Linked DNA regions of Homo sapiens: region 2 is linked to region 1. The links are contacts of gene promoters, found by promoter capture Hi-C in blood cells and fetal thymus (Javierre and others, 2016). All regions are on one chromosome and are shown on one strand. The core of a region is centred on a gene start or on the middle of the fragment in contact, and the rest is flanking DNA. Distances in the headings are between cores, read along the strand shown. Region 1 holds the start of VCAM1 (vascular cell adhesion molecule 1). Region 2 has its middle 31 kb from the start of EXTL2.

Region 1 (6,842 bases), core at 1,979-4,478:
TCTGAGTCCAGATCTCCTTTAAATTGTTATATATTCAATCAGTAGGGATTTACTGAGCTCCTAGTATCTACTGGTTACTATGTTAAAAGTGCTGAAGCACTAATGGTGAACAAGACATAGACATTCTTGGTTCCTCTAGAGCTAATAATCTGGTAATTGCCTACATATGAGTTGTACTTTTAGCTTTTGGTATAGCACAGAGTAATAAGTAAATTCCTTCCCCTGTGCATTAATCATTCAGTTATCACATTGCTTCATGGGTGCCTCTTCTCTAGACAAAATATGTCCTTTTTCTTCAACATAGGAGCTATTACTTTTCTCTGGACACCCTTAATTTCGTCAGCATCTTTCTTAAGGAGTGGCATTCTGAATTAGACACCCAGGCTCCCAGTATGATCTGGTGGGTGTGTAGTGCTCAGAGACTGTGGCCTCAGAAGACTTGAAGGTTGAATTACTAGGAGTGCAACCTGGACTCATCACAGCTATTTTGATTTCTCATGGCAGTGTTCATTTTTATGGTTCGTAAAATCACAAGACCTTCTTTCTGTGAATTGTGACCAAGTCAGATCTCTCCCATACTGTACTCAAACATTGGAAACATTTAAATGCTGACCTTTAATGCATTCCTATTAAATTTTACTTCGTCATCTGGAATATTATTACATACCTTGAGGTCTTCTTTATCTTGCTTCTCTCATCTCTAAGGTTGTCTTTCCCAGTTTTGCATTATTAATAGGTTAGATAATCACGTGCTGTATTAGTTTGTTTTCACACGCTGATAAAGACATACCCAAAACCAGGAAGAAAAAGAGGTTTAATGGACTTATAGTTCCACCTGGCTGGGGAAGCCTCACAGTCATGGTGGAAGGCAAGGAGGAGCAAGTCACGTCTTACATGGATGGTGGCAGGCAAAGAGAGAGAGCTTCTGTATGGGGAACTGCTCTTTTTAAAACCGTCAGCTCTTGTGAGACTTACTCACGATCATGAGAACAGCACGGGAAAGATTTGCCTCCATGATTCAGTTACCTCCCACAGGGTCCCTCCCACAACACATGGGAATTCAAAATGATATTTCAGTGGGGACAAGGCCAAACCATATTATGTGCTTTATGCTACTAATAAAAAGGTTAAACCGAACAAGTTCAAAGACAAAACTCAGTAGTACTTTATTCAGACAGGTTAGTCTAAATCTGTTAACCTTATACTTGCAACTCTGATCATTCATTAATTCTGCAAATTTTAATAAATGCTTTATTTTAAGCTAAATGCTGAGATGAAAAAATGAAACCATATGAGTTAGCAAAGTAGAAAATATAGGCATATTAATCAGTAAATGCAGAATGATAAATGCTCCATCAATATGCACTTGTTGTAGTGAGGCCACCGAGGAGGGTGCAATCCTCTCAACCTGGGAGGAGCAGGTAGGACTTCAGATGTCATCCAACTCAAAGATATAGTGAGGGACTTGATCAAACATTTGCCAAGACCACTATGAGTTAAATGAATAGATTAGGCATTTCTCCAATGTTGCAAGCTTCGAATCATATCCAAACTCAGAACAACATAGCTTGGTCATAATGATCCCAAGGATCCTATTGGCCATTGTCTTTGAGCCTCAAAGGAACATATTAAAACTCCATAATACCCTTTTGATCTATTCTGAAGTTAAGTAGTGAATTTACATGATGATGACACAAACACTGTAAAGGACCTCTGGGTTACTTGTTTATAAGCTAGTATTTCCTGAATCAATTTTTCTGATCCCTAGATATTTGGTAGGTGAAGTCATACCTATATATCCCCACACCCTAGAACAGCATCTCCAACTTATTTTTCCCTCCTTGTCTTTTAGTGGGAGCCACATCAGTATCCAAGAGGAGATCCAGAAGCCTCTCCAACCAGGTAGGGACAGTTATAGATTCCAGACCTCAGCTATGGCCTTTGTTACAGAGTACAAATGTTATATAGTACAAGTTTATTGTACACATCCCATTGAGTCTCTGAGCTTTAGAATTTTCTTGTAGAATTTAACAGTTTTTTCATGCCGTATTTACATATTATTGCTAGTATTTAGAATTTTCTTCTCCAAATGTATAACGTTTATTATTGCATTTTTTGTATCCACTAAGTGGAAAATCATGCATTAGATATTGTAGAAGTAGATACAACAATGAACAAGAACTGGTCCTGACCATGAGAGGAACTGATGATCCAATGGGGGAGATAGACCTGCACGTGTTTAATAAAAGGAAGTGGCTATTCCGGTTTCTTTTTGATGGGCAAGCATTTTGCAAGGCCTTGGGCTATGTGTGTGCAAGGCTAAGCCAGTTAGTTAATTGGGATTTTTTTAAAAAGGCACTTCACTGGGGGGAAAAGGAACATAGAGTTGGTTATTGTCCCCTTGCCTATAATAAAAACCTATTATTTTTAATTTTTTAACTGGGTTTGCGGTTAAATCTCACAGCCCAAGAGATTTGCCACTTCAGATGGATTCCATACACTTGCATTTAAGTATGCAAAAAAATTCCAATTATCCAGCAATTTAACCAAATTATTGGTAACTTTTCTAAAACAAAAAAAAATTGTTTCCCTTGTTTTGGCAGCAATTTCAGTTACAGTCCTTTACTTTCTACTCAAGAAAATAGTTTCAAAAAGTTGATGTTTGTTGCTAAAAGAACTATTTTTATGAATAAATATAAAACTAAGAAGTTATGGTGTCCCTTTTTTAAAAAATGACTCATCAAAAGAAATAACTTTTTCCTTTCTCTTGTAAGAGAAAAAAATTAATCTCTTTTAGAATTGCAAACATATTTCCTTGATGGAGAAAATCAATTCACATGGCATAGTCGTTATTTATCCAGTTCAAAAACCAGAGTAGAATTTACTACTCTGTCTCCATTTTTTCTCTCCCCACCCCCTTAACCCACATTGGATTCAGAAAGCTTCATTCTGCAATCAGCATTGTCCTTTATCTTTCCAGTAAAGATAGCCTTTTGGAGTCGAAGATGAGGAAAAGCCTGTATTTTATAGTCTTGGAAGTGTCTTCTTTTGCCAGGACAGAGAGAGGAGCTTCAGCAGTGAGAGCAACTGAAGGGGTTAATAGTGGAACTTGGCTGGGTGTCTGTTAAACTTTTTTCCCTGGCTCTGCCCTGGGTTTCCCCTTGAAGGGATTTCCCTCCGCCTCTGCAACAAGACCCTTTATAAAGCACAGACTTTCTATTTCACTCCGCGGTATCTGCATCGGGCCTCACTGGCTTCAGGAGCTGAATACCCTCCCAGGCACACACAGGTGGGACACAAATAAGGGTTTTGGAACCACTATTTTCTCATCACGACAGCAACTTAAAATGCCTGGGAAGATGGTCGTGATCCTTGGAGCCTCAAATATACTTTGGATAATGTTTGCAGCTTGTAAGTTATTTCCCTTCATCTGTTTCAAATGTTAGCATTCAATTTTAGCCCTGGTTTTGGCTTCAGTCAGTTTTGCGATAGTAGTGAAGTAAAGACACTAGGATTTTAAACAGTAGGAAAAGTTAATTTAGTCTAACTTTTAATATGCAATTGAGTTTTGCTATATACCATTGTACTGTCATAGTTAGAGCTGAAAATTGATGTTTTTGGTATCTTTTTTTCCAAAGGCAATTGAGTAATTTGGATTCTGTCTCTAGTCGGTCTGTCTCTTTAGTTTCCTATACTTGACAATGAGGTCAAACTTAGCAAATAACAAAACAGCTTTGATAAATGGGCATCAAGGTTGGAACTGAGAATTCTCTCTACTGAAGATGATTCCATAAACTTTTTTGGCAGTGACTTCGGTGCTTTTTGGCTACCTTGCAGTTAGTTTGAAGCAGCTTAGGAAAGAGATCAGTCTGATCATATTTTAGACATTATACAGAGAAGAAGGAGGAGAATACTAGACAAACTAGTGGTAAATTTGCTTCTGTCTTTTTTTGCTTTTGCAGCTCAAGCTTTTAAAATCGAGACCACCCCAGAATCTAGATATCTTGCTCAGATTGGTGACTCCGTCTCATTGACTTGCAGCACCACAGGCTGTGAGTCCCCATTTTTCTCTTGGAGAACCCAGATAGATAGTCCACTGAATGGGAAGGTGACGAATGAGGGGACCACATCTACGCTGACAATGAATCCTGTTAGTTTTGGGAACGAACACTCTTACCTGTGCACAGCAACTTGTGAATCTAGGAAATTGGAAAAAGGAATCCAGGTGGAGATCTACTGTGAGTGCTTTAGAAAATCTTTGTTTTTCTCTCAATTTTACTTTAAAATCACTTTTTAAAAATGATATTTTAAAAAAAGTTTTAAAATGGATATTCATGTACAGATTCTTGGCTAAAGAACATACAACATCAGGAAAGCTAGGGACAGCTAAGGCCAACATGAGAGAGAGCAGGAATCCAAATCTTGGCTTCTATTTCTACCTCTGCCACAAACACAGTGACCATGTATAAGACTCAACCTCTCTGGGCTCTGGTTTCCTTAGCTGTAAAATGATCATTTCTAAGTTTCTTTTTGTTTTATTAAAAAATATTTCCATTTGATTACATCCTTACATGTTTACTTGCTTATGTGTCTGATTGATTTATGAATTCCATCCTTCAGGGATTTTCTATTCATTTATTCTTATGCAATTTGATGCTTAAAATTAGTTTAAACATTAAGTAGATCTATAATTAGTAATATGTATTAGTATAAAAGTGTTCTTCTTAGACATAATTGTTAATATCTGGAAACATTTCAATCATTTGACTTTGGTGTTGACACATTTAGGATTTTTTTTTGGTTTTTTTGGTGCCATGAAGCCTTGGTGCTCAACCGCTCAACTTCAAAGATATTTATATAATGAACTAGATTTGCCTCATGAAAGTGAGTGGATGTCCCTAGTTTACCAGCCTGACAAAATGCATCCCACTCCATTCTCCATTCAGCAAACAAAGTTAGCAAGAGGAGTAAAAAACTAACCAGACATAAATCATTTGCCTTTTGTTACTGATGGCCTCTCTTTCTAAAAAACTGAACCCATTTACGGTCATGTCTTCATGAAGACCTCATTTGATTATAATTACTTTGGTTTCGTTTTATTGTACCGGAGCTCAACTTTTCCCAGTAACCTTAATTGATTCTGCAACAAACCGCATGTGTTGCTCAAGCTTCCCAAGAAACTGTGCTTGGCCGGCTGCTTTCAATTATGCTGGTTGTATGTGCATAGTTTATGTCTGTGCAGCCTCCCGAGCTCCTTGAAAGCTTCCCTTATGTAAATACAGGGAAAAGTAGCAAGTTCTTATGTTACCTGACATCGAACTGTGTGGATTAGAGGAACATTTCTTACAGAATATGAGGGACAGAAATTATTGCTGGAAAAATGAAAAATACCATGTTTCTTCACATAGGAAAGAATTTCCAGCTCCTTTGTCTTTTGCCCACTAGTACCAAATAGTTGAAGATTTAAGAAAGAGAAATGAAGACGCTTCTGGTTTTAATTATCTTGCCTGAGGTTTTTCTCCAAGAGTGTCTGTTTCTCATTATGTATAACAGTTCTGTCTCCTTTCCGCATTTGATTGTAATAGTGGTTAGAGTTGAGACCTTTGTATTCTTTTTGCTACACAGTTTTGAATCCACCAATATGTTACTTCATCATAATGCATAATGAAAAAGGTAACTCTTGCAAAGGAGGCAATGGCCACGTGAAGTAGTGTATTTCCTTGTACTAGAAGCTTCAATGGAACACTTGTTGGGATAGTGAGTTAGGCATTTCAGGAGGCAAATATGTGTTCCAGAACATAAAGATTGCACAAATGTATCTTTCTGGTGGATGAATTCCTGTCAGAGGCACCATTTTCAGAAGCTAATTACTTAAAGTTGGTCTTCTCATTTCTTAGAATATCTTGACAATAACTATTCTTTGCAATGACATTCCAAGGCTTACAGTCATTATCTGTAAAATGGAAATATATCTGCCCTGACTATAATAAGAAAATGTGATGTAACATAATGTAAATCTGTAGTAGCAAAACACAATAATGGAAATCCTGAGTTTAAATCCCAGCTTTACCATTTACTAGGTGTGTGACCTTAGACAAGTTATGTAAATGTACTAAGTCCAGGTCTTCTTTTCTGTGAAATGTGATCTCTATCTCCTAGAGTTATTGTGAGGATAAAATGAAATCATTCATGTTAAATCTATAGCACAGTGACAGCCACATGTAAGGTTCAATATAAACATTATTTTTTCTTCTTTCTTTTACTGTAATAACATGCAACTCTTAATATATACAGGATCAGAATTGAATAATGTTGTAAAAAATGTTTGCTTCCAATTCTTGTGCCTTGAACTCACCCCAAATCATGAAAGGCTATTCAAACAGTTCTGTCGTATTAAGACTGTATTAACAAAAACGCTAGACTTGATTTGTATTGTGTTAAAGTGGTAAGAGACCTTATATCACATTAGCAAAAAGCCCATCCATGTATTTGTTTGGCCTTTTCAGCTTTTCCTAAGGATCCAGAGATTCATTTGAGTGGCCCTCTGGAGGCTGGGAAGCCGATCACAGTCAAGTGTTCAGTTGCTGATGTATACCCATTTGACAGGCTGGAGATAGACTTACTGAAAGGAGATCATCTCATGAAGAGTCAGGAATTTCTGGAGGATGCAGACAGGAAGTCCCTGGAAACCAAGAGTTTGGAAGTAACCTTTACTCCTGTCATTGAGGATATTGGAAAAGTTCTTGTTTGCCGAGCTAAATTACACATTGATGAAATGGATTCTGTGCCCACAGTAAGGCAGGCTGTAAAAGAATTGCAAGTCTACAGTAAGTACTTGTGCG
Region 2 (7,377 bases), core at 2,167-4,666, 140 kb after region 1:
TTTTAAACCATCAGATCTTATGAGAACTCACTTACTATCATGAGAGTAGTAAGGGGGAAATCTGCCCCCAAGAGCCAATCACCTCCCACCAGGCCCATCCTCCAATTCGACATGAGATTTGGGTGGGGAAACAAATCCAAACCATATCAGATGTTCTGACTAAAAGGACCTATTATGTTTTGCATTTAGTCTGTAACTCCGCATCATGTCATGAATCACATTGCTGCCAAGAATGTGTAGTGAGCTAAATGCATTGCAGGAGTCAAATTACAAAGGAAAATCTCCATTGTCTTCAGATACTCTCTTGAGGTCTTAGATAACCTCTTCTCAGCCCTCACATCTCCATTTCAACTAAAGGGGATTGAAGGAGAAGCAGAATGTTTTCTCTGTGCAAGTAATTTTAATCCTTTATCAGAACTCAAGACTGTCCCACCGGGGGTTGGAGGCTAAGGGCAAATCACACTGTGTACCTTGTTCCTTCTCCAGTACCTTGTTCCAACTCCACTTGCCCTTCCCTAGCCCATTTCAGTAAACAGATAAAACTGGATTTAAGTAAGCCTCAAGGAGAATCTTGCAAGAGAAGAATCATAAAGCAGTAAATTGTAGCAATTAATTACATGCATTTTTAATGAAACTTAGGTTTTTTTTCTTTTTTTAGCACTATCTTCATTTATTCCCACCACTACTCCTAGAGTTACTAGTATCTTTGGCTTTCTGAAGACTAGGGTAATTACAAAGCCCCGGTCAGGGCAGTGGTTTTTATTAATGGTAGCCTGAGTAGGATATATTATTAATAGTTAAGAATATAAGCTTTATAACTGACTGACCCAGGTTTGAATCCTGACCTTTTTACTTTGTGGCCTTGAACAAATTATTTAACCTCTCTAATTCTTAGTTTTTTAAGTCAGTTAAATAAGGTAATAATACCTATTTCATAAGATTTGTTTGAGAATATTAAATAAGAACATTGCATAAAGCATGATGCATGCTACATTGTAAATACTCAACATGGTAGATGTTAATATTACTATTATTATGATATTTTATTCATTCAATAAAGGTTGTTGATAAATTATGAATCCAGAAATTGTGCTGACTGGACTCACTTTAAATTTGTAACTACAAATCTCAAATGACTCAAAATAGTCCCAGATTATTCTATCTCATTGCCCTGGTAACTTCATTTTCCTCCTTTCCAAGAGAGCTATTTCACAATGTTCTCTTCTCTCAAATCCCCATACCTCCCACATACACACACACTCACACTCAACTGATACTCATACTCAGACTTTCGTCATAGACAATAAATGTCAACATGCAAAATGCCCTCTTTCTCATCACAAAATCCACTTGCCTTCCTACATCCTTGTTTATGAACTTTGTCTTCCCTCCTTTTTCAGGAAAACAGAGTTCCTGCCCCTTTGGCCACCCTCCCCTGCACCTGGAACATATCCTCTCGGGCCTTCCCAGGCACCGCACTTCTGTACTCATGTACGGGCTTCTTCTGTTCACTAGAACTTCAATTCTGGAGTGTCCCAGGCTCTGCCCAGCCCTCTCTCCTTCTCTATTTATGCTATCCCCCTAAATGATTCGACCAACTCTGAGGGCTCTTAATATCATCTATGCTTTAATGATTGATCTCCAGTCTTCCTCATTTCAGTAAATATTACCAACATCTACCCCATGTCTTCAGCGAAAAACCCAGGAGCCCACATCTAATCTGTTCAACAAGTCTTGTATGTCTTACTGGCTAACTCCAAACATACCTTAAGTCTAACTACTTCTGACAAACTTCATTACTACCACCATGGTCCCAACTACCATTATTTCTCTCTAGATCAGGGTTTCTCAGTCTTGGCATTATTGACATTTTGACCAAGTGATTCTTTGTTCTGAGGGCTGTCCTGTGCACTGTAGGCTGTTCAGCAGCAGCCCTTCTCTCTACCCACCAGATGCTAGTCACATTCCCACTACACAGTTATGAACACCAAAAATCTCTCCAGACGTGGCCAAATGTCCCTTATGGGGCTTGGGGGGGTCGAAATCACTCCCAGTTGAGAACCACTTCTCTGAATTAGTGCCAGCAATCTCTTAATTTGTCCCCCTGTCCCACTCTTGCCCTTCTAAAATCTACATCCTATACAGCATCCAGAGTGATCTTATTAAGCATATGAATCGTCATATCCCATCCCCGGTGAAAACATTTCAGAGGCTTCCTTTGTACTTAGTCCACAGCTCAAGATTCTGGCATTATTTCCTTCTACTCTCACCTTCAGTTACTGCTCTGCAGTCCTCTGGCATTCTTGTCATCCCCCAAACTTGCCAAGTTTATTCCTATATTGGGGCCTTTGCCCCTGATGTTCTCTCTGCCTGAAATTCTCTTCCCACAGAGCATGCCTTAACAACTCATCATTCAAACCACACCTCACATCCTCCTCCAGCTTTTCCTGAACCACCAGTGAAAGAAGTCTCCTATAGCTACTCTCCATCACATTACTCTATTTTCTTTATCGGGGCCAGAGATTATATCACGTATTTTCACCAACTTATTGTCCTCCTGTGAAAATATTTACTCCATGAGAGGAGGGGCTTTATTTGGACTTGTTTGCCTTTTGCCACTTTAACATTAATTTCCTGAAAAGTGCCTGACCAAAACAAGGATCTGGAAAATATGAACCAATATATTTTTGTCTGATTAATTAGCTGATTAAACACCTATGTGATTCAGCTTTGGGGTTTGGGGGCTGTGGCTAGAAAAATAAATAATAAGACACGGCTCCTGCCCTCAAGGAGTTAGATCCAATGGAGGTTTTGGAGAAGTAAAAAGGAAATTACAATATAGAATACGAAGTGCTACAATAGAGGGAAGCTTAACTCAGATCTAGGGCTTCAGAGACTTCCTAGGGAGGGTGACATGAGCAAATGCATCCAGAGGGGTGAGTGAGAGTTAGCTGGGTTAGTGGGTGCTAGAGTCTGAATTGTGTCCCCTCCCAAGTTCATATGTTGAAGCTCTAACTCCCAGTACCTCAGAATATTACTGTATTTGGAGATGGGGCCTTTAAAGAGGTAATTAACTTAAAATGAGGCTGTTAGGTTGAGCTCTAATCTAATCTGACTGATGTCTTTATTATAAGAAGAAGAAATGTGGATACTCAGAGAGACATCAGGGTTGTACACACAAAGGGAAGACCATGTAAGGCACAACAAGAAGGCAGCCATCTATAAGCCAAGGGGAGAGGACTGGAACGGATCTTCCCTCATAGCTCTCAGAAGAAACTGCCCCTGCTGACGCCTTGATCTTAGACTTCCAGCCTCCAGAACTGTGAGAAAATAAATGTCTGTTGTTTAAGCCACCCAGTCTGTGGTCCTTTTTAGGGTAGCCCTTGCAAATGAATACAGCAGAGTGGGAAACTGAGGTGTGTGGGTGGGGTGGGAAGCACCTGGGTGTGGAGCACAAGCTGTATGGTTGTTAGAGGGGAGGCTGGAGAGGTTGGGAGGTCTGAGCTCATTAGGCCTGACCAAATAAAGGCCAGGATAGGAGTGTGAGCACTATGGTGAAGATTCTCAAGAACACTGAAAAATCACAAGCAGCACAGTAAGGTGATCAGACTTGCCTCCGAGAAGAATTTTAGTGGTAGCGTGATGAGTAGAGTGTAGGTGAGGAACACCAGAGATCCTGAGAGCAACAAGGAAGCATGTAGCTTTGCAGTCCAACAGACTGAGGTTCCCATCCAGGCTCTGCCATTTAGAATCCCTATGACTTTGGACAAGTTCTTACCCCTCTTTGGCTTCTGTTTCCTCATTTGTAATTATAGGTATGATTCTTACCTCAGGGGATAATATGAGAATTAAATAAGACAGCATGTGTAAAATACTTGGCATAATACTTGACAAATTAGAAACAACGATTGCCGGTAGCTATTAGAATATCCAAGGCAGTAATAGTAGAGCTGGGAAAAAGGGACAAGCTTGAGCTATCTTAAAGATGAATAATCTTTAAAACTTGGCCATTGATTTTATGTTTGGTGGTGTGAGAGAAGATGAAGTAAAAAATAACATCTAGACTTTTGAGTCGGGCAGGTTTTGGATTGTAATGTCATTCACCAAAGTAGGAAATGAAAACAAAGAACCAGGGAGGGGAAGAGGATGAGTTTAATTTTGGATACGTTGAGTTTGAGGGATACTTGGTACATATCAGAAGAGTATCTCATAGAGAGTTGAATATAGAGATCTAGATTCAGGAAAGAGGCTTGGGCTAGAGACATAGACTAGATTGATAAAGCATTTCATTGAAAGTGTGCAGAGTGAGAAGAGAAGCAAAATAGAGGTAGAACTCCAGGGACATATCCACCATCAGAAGAAGAGAAGACAGGATAGGAGGCTAAAAAGGAGCCTACAAAGAGAAAGGAGAAAAAGAAAAAGTGAAGTCAAAGGGAGGAAAGACATTTGAAAAGAGAGTAGTTAACAGTGAAAAAGCCAAAGAGAAATCAAATAAGGTAAGAACCAAGCCATACCCACCAGACTGTGTAATGCCTAGATATCAGGCAAGACTTGGAAAAGGATGATTTTAGGGAGTGATAGGGATATAATCCCTATTGTAATGAGGTAAAGAAAAAATGAGAGGTGGGGAAGTGAATATTGTGAGCTTTATTGTTCCATTTTTATTTTATTTTATTATTTTAGAGATAAGGTCTTACTATGTTTCCCAGGCTGGTCTTGAACTCCTGGGCTCAAGTGATCCTCCTGCCTCAGCCTCCCAAAGTGCTGGGATTGTAGGCATGAGCCACCACACCTGGCCAATATTGTGAGTTTGAGAATGAGAGACAGAGAGAGAAAGAGAGAGAGAGAGAGAGAGAGAGAGAGAGAGAGAGAGAGAGAGAGAGAGAGAGATAAACTCTGTCTGTAGAAGAAAAATCCTTTTGTTCCCTCACCCTTCATAACTCCTTGTTTCCCACCATCCTAACCTGTATTCAGCCCAGGGGTTCTTAACCCTTAACCTTGGGTTCATAGATCCACCTCAAGTGGTTCACAAATAGAATTTAAGGGATCTATGTAATTTCAGAAAAAAATTACAACTTCAATTTCACTCGACTGAAATCTAGCATTTTCACCAATTGTGAATTTAGGCAAAAACTACAGAAGATCAGCAGTACCTGTGACTGTCAAAAATATTTTTTCATATCATGTTACAGTTGTCGCAGATTTCTCAAAATATCATTTACACTCTTCACTTTTATGAAATTATAAGTTATTTTAAGTCTGCTGCTAGATCTTATAAATAGTTTTAAATATTTTGATAACTATATTTAAATTCAATTAGTTTTCTTTGTAATCGTATGTGTTTTATGTTTTTAAAAACATTATTTGGAGAAAGGGTTGATAGGCATCCTCAAATGTCTTTGGCACAAAAAGGTTAAGACTTCCTGCTAGTTCATTCCGTAAGCTATGTATCTGCCCTATTATCTCAAATTTTTGGATTCTATATGCTGCTGCCCTTACTCTTCTATCTATAAGTCACAGTTATCCCATATGCTTTTCCAGGGAAAATAGGCATGTGTCTCTATGTGTTTTTCAATTGATCTCACCATCCCTTAGTCCTTTTACTTTTCACCTGGTCATAGAAACACCATCTGTTTTGAGATGGTAAAATTGTTTCAAATATTCATTTACATTTTTGTTCACCATCAACCAACATTTATTGAGCACAAGATGCTATGCTGCATGCTTGGGTACACAGCACTGGTATAACCTATGAATTTATGGTTTGAAGAGTAGTCAAAAGAGATGAGAAGTAGATTTATACATAAATAGTTATAAGACAGTGTGGAAGTTGCTTTACTTAGGATAACAAAGTTTTGTGGTATCGGAGTTGCCAGGGGAAGGCTTCAGGCAGGGAGTGACACAGAATGACGAGAATGTTGTTAAAGGACTGAGTGTGCCAAGACTGGGTAAGTAATGTTCATAAAGCCATTGCTTTGTTTCCTAAAAATCTTTGAAACATTAAACATCACGGAGTAAAAGATGTTTTTTTCATCTTGATATATAGATTTAATTAGCATACCTGATGAGGACTGAGAAAAAAATGGAGGACTAGGTTGAATTTTTAGGATATCTTCCTTCCTGTAAGCATTTACCGAGAGAAACAATGTTCATAATCGCTACAAATGAAAATATTAAGCCAACATTCATTTAAAAAAGCATTTGGATATGAGAATTATCAGGTTTCATAAATGAGTGAATGACACCTGCTGGCCACATAGAATAATTACCCTCTCTGAAGGAATGGTGAGTGCTAATAGTGAATACTGTGAACCCCATTTCTCTACCAAAGCAATTACATGTCATACTTGGGCTTTTCTTTAATGATCAGCAAGGGGGAGAATTTTTGGAACAGTGAACCTTATACTTTTTGGGGTTTGTTTTTCTAGCTTGAAGAGTTCAAGAAGTTTAAAGAATTTAAATGTTTACTGCAATTTATTTAATAGTAAGTTAACTGAGACTTGGAGAGAAGTAATGCCTCACTCAAGATCACACAAGCAGGTTGGCAAGCTAATACCAGAGCCCTGGTTTCTGTTCTCCTACATTCCCAGACTAGGCAAAGATTCGGGTTGTTTGTTAACTTTTCTTCTATCTCTTATTGTTTGGCTCAACTCTTCAGAAATTTTATTAATGGTGACGTCACTAATACTTTCTATATGTCTAATGTCTTTCACTTTTTAAAAAAGTCTGATTTGTTGAAGTAAGATTTACATAAAGTAAAATTCACCAATTTTAAGTGTACAATTCTATGAGTTTTGATAAATGTATATAGTCTTATCACCATTCACCACAATCAGATCTAGAATATATCTATCATCCCTGGAGATTTCCTCATGCCCTTTCATACCCAACCCCCCACTTCTACCTCCAGGCCCTGGCAATCACCGATCTGTTTTCTGTCCCTAGAGTATCGCCTTTTCCAGAATGTCATATACATGGAAGCATATGGTATATGGCTTTCTGTGTCTGTCTGCCTTCACTTGGCTTAATGCTTTGGAGGTTCAGCTATGCTGTTGCATGTAAAGGTAGTTTGTTTCTTTTTATTGCTGAGCAGCATGCTACTGTATGGATAAACCACAATATGTTTATCCTCTAACTAGCTGATGGAAATTTGGGTTGTTTTCAAATTTTGATGATTATGAACAAAGTTTTGATAAATATTTGAGTATAGGTCTTTGTGTGGACATATATTTAATACGTCTTAGGTAAATACCTAGGCATGGGATTGCTACTATATGGTGAGGGCATGTTTTACTTTATAAGAAATTATGGCTTTTGCTTTTCAAAAGTAATTGTACACATACTCCTTCATTTATTCTTAGTCTACTTCTCGTTGTG

What was found. The method cuts DNA at HindIII sites, captures the fragments that hold promoters and counts their contacts. A CHiCAGO score of 5 or more calls a contact.
Region 2: a contact is called between a fragment that was not itself captured here and the fragment with the promoter of VCAM1 in region 1, in 5 of 17 cell types (endothelial precursors, M1 macrophages, M2 macrophages and 2 more). The highest score is 9.4, in endothelial precursors.

Annotation. Positions count from the first base shown.
Region 1 is chr1:100,716,514-100,723,355 of GRCh38, forward strand. It overlaps VCAM1 (vascular cell adhesion molecule 1), which reads left to right and starts at 3,229. Exons shown (of 9, transcript NM_001078.4): 1 at 3,229-3,411; 2 at 3,963-4,238; 3 at 6,507-6,827. The coding sequence starts at 3,348. The HindIII fragment of the contact is 1,026 bases long and covers 2,941-3,966 here.
Region 2 is chr1:100,860,339-100,867,715 of GRCh38, forward strand. No RefSeq gene overlaps it. Among named protein-coding and RNA genes, the nearest start is that of EXTL2, 31 kb to the right of the region's middle. The HindIII fragment of the contact is 1,099 bases long and covers 2,868-3,966 here.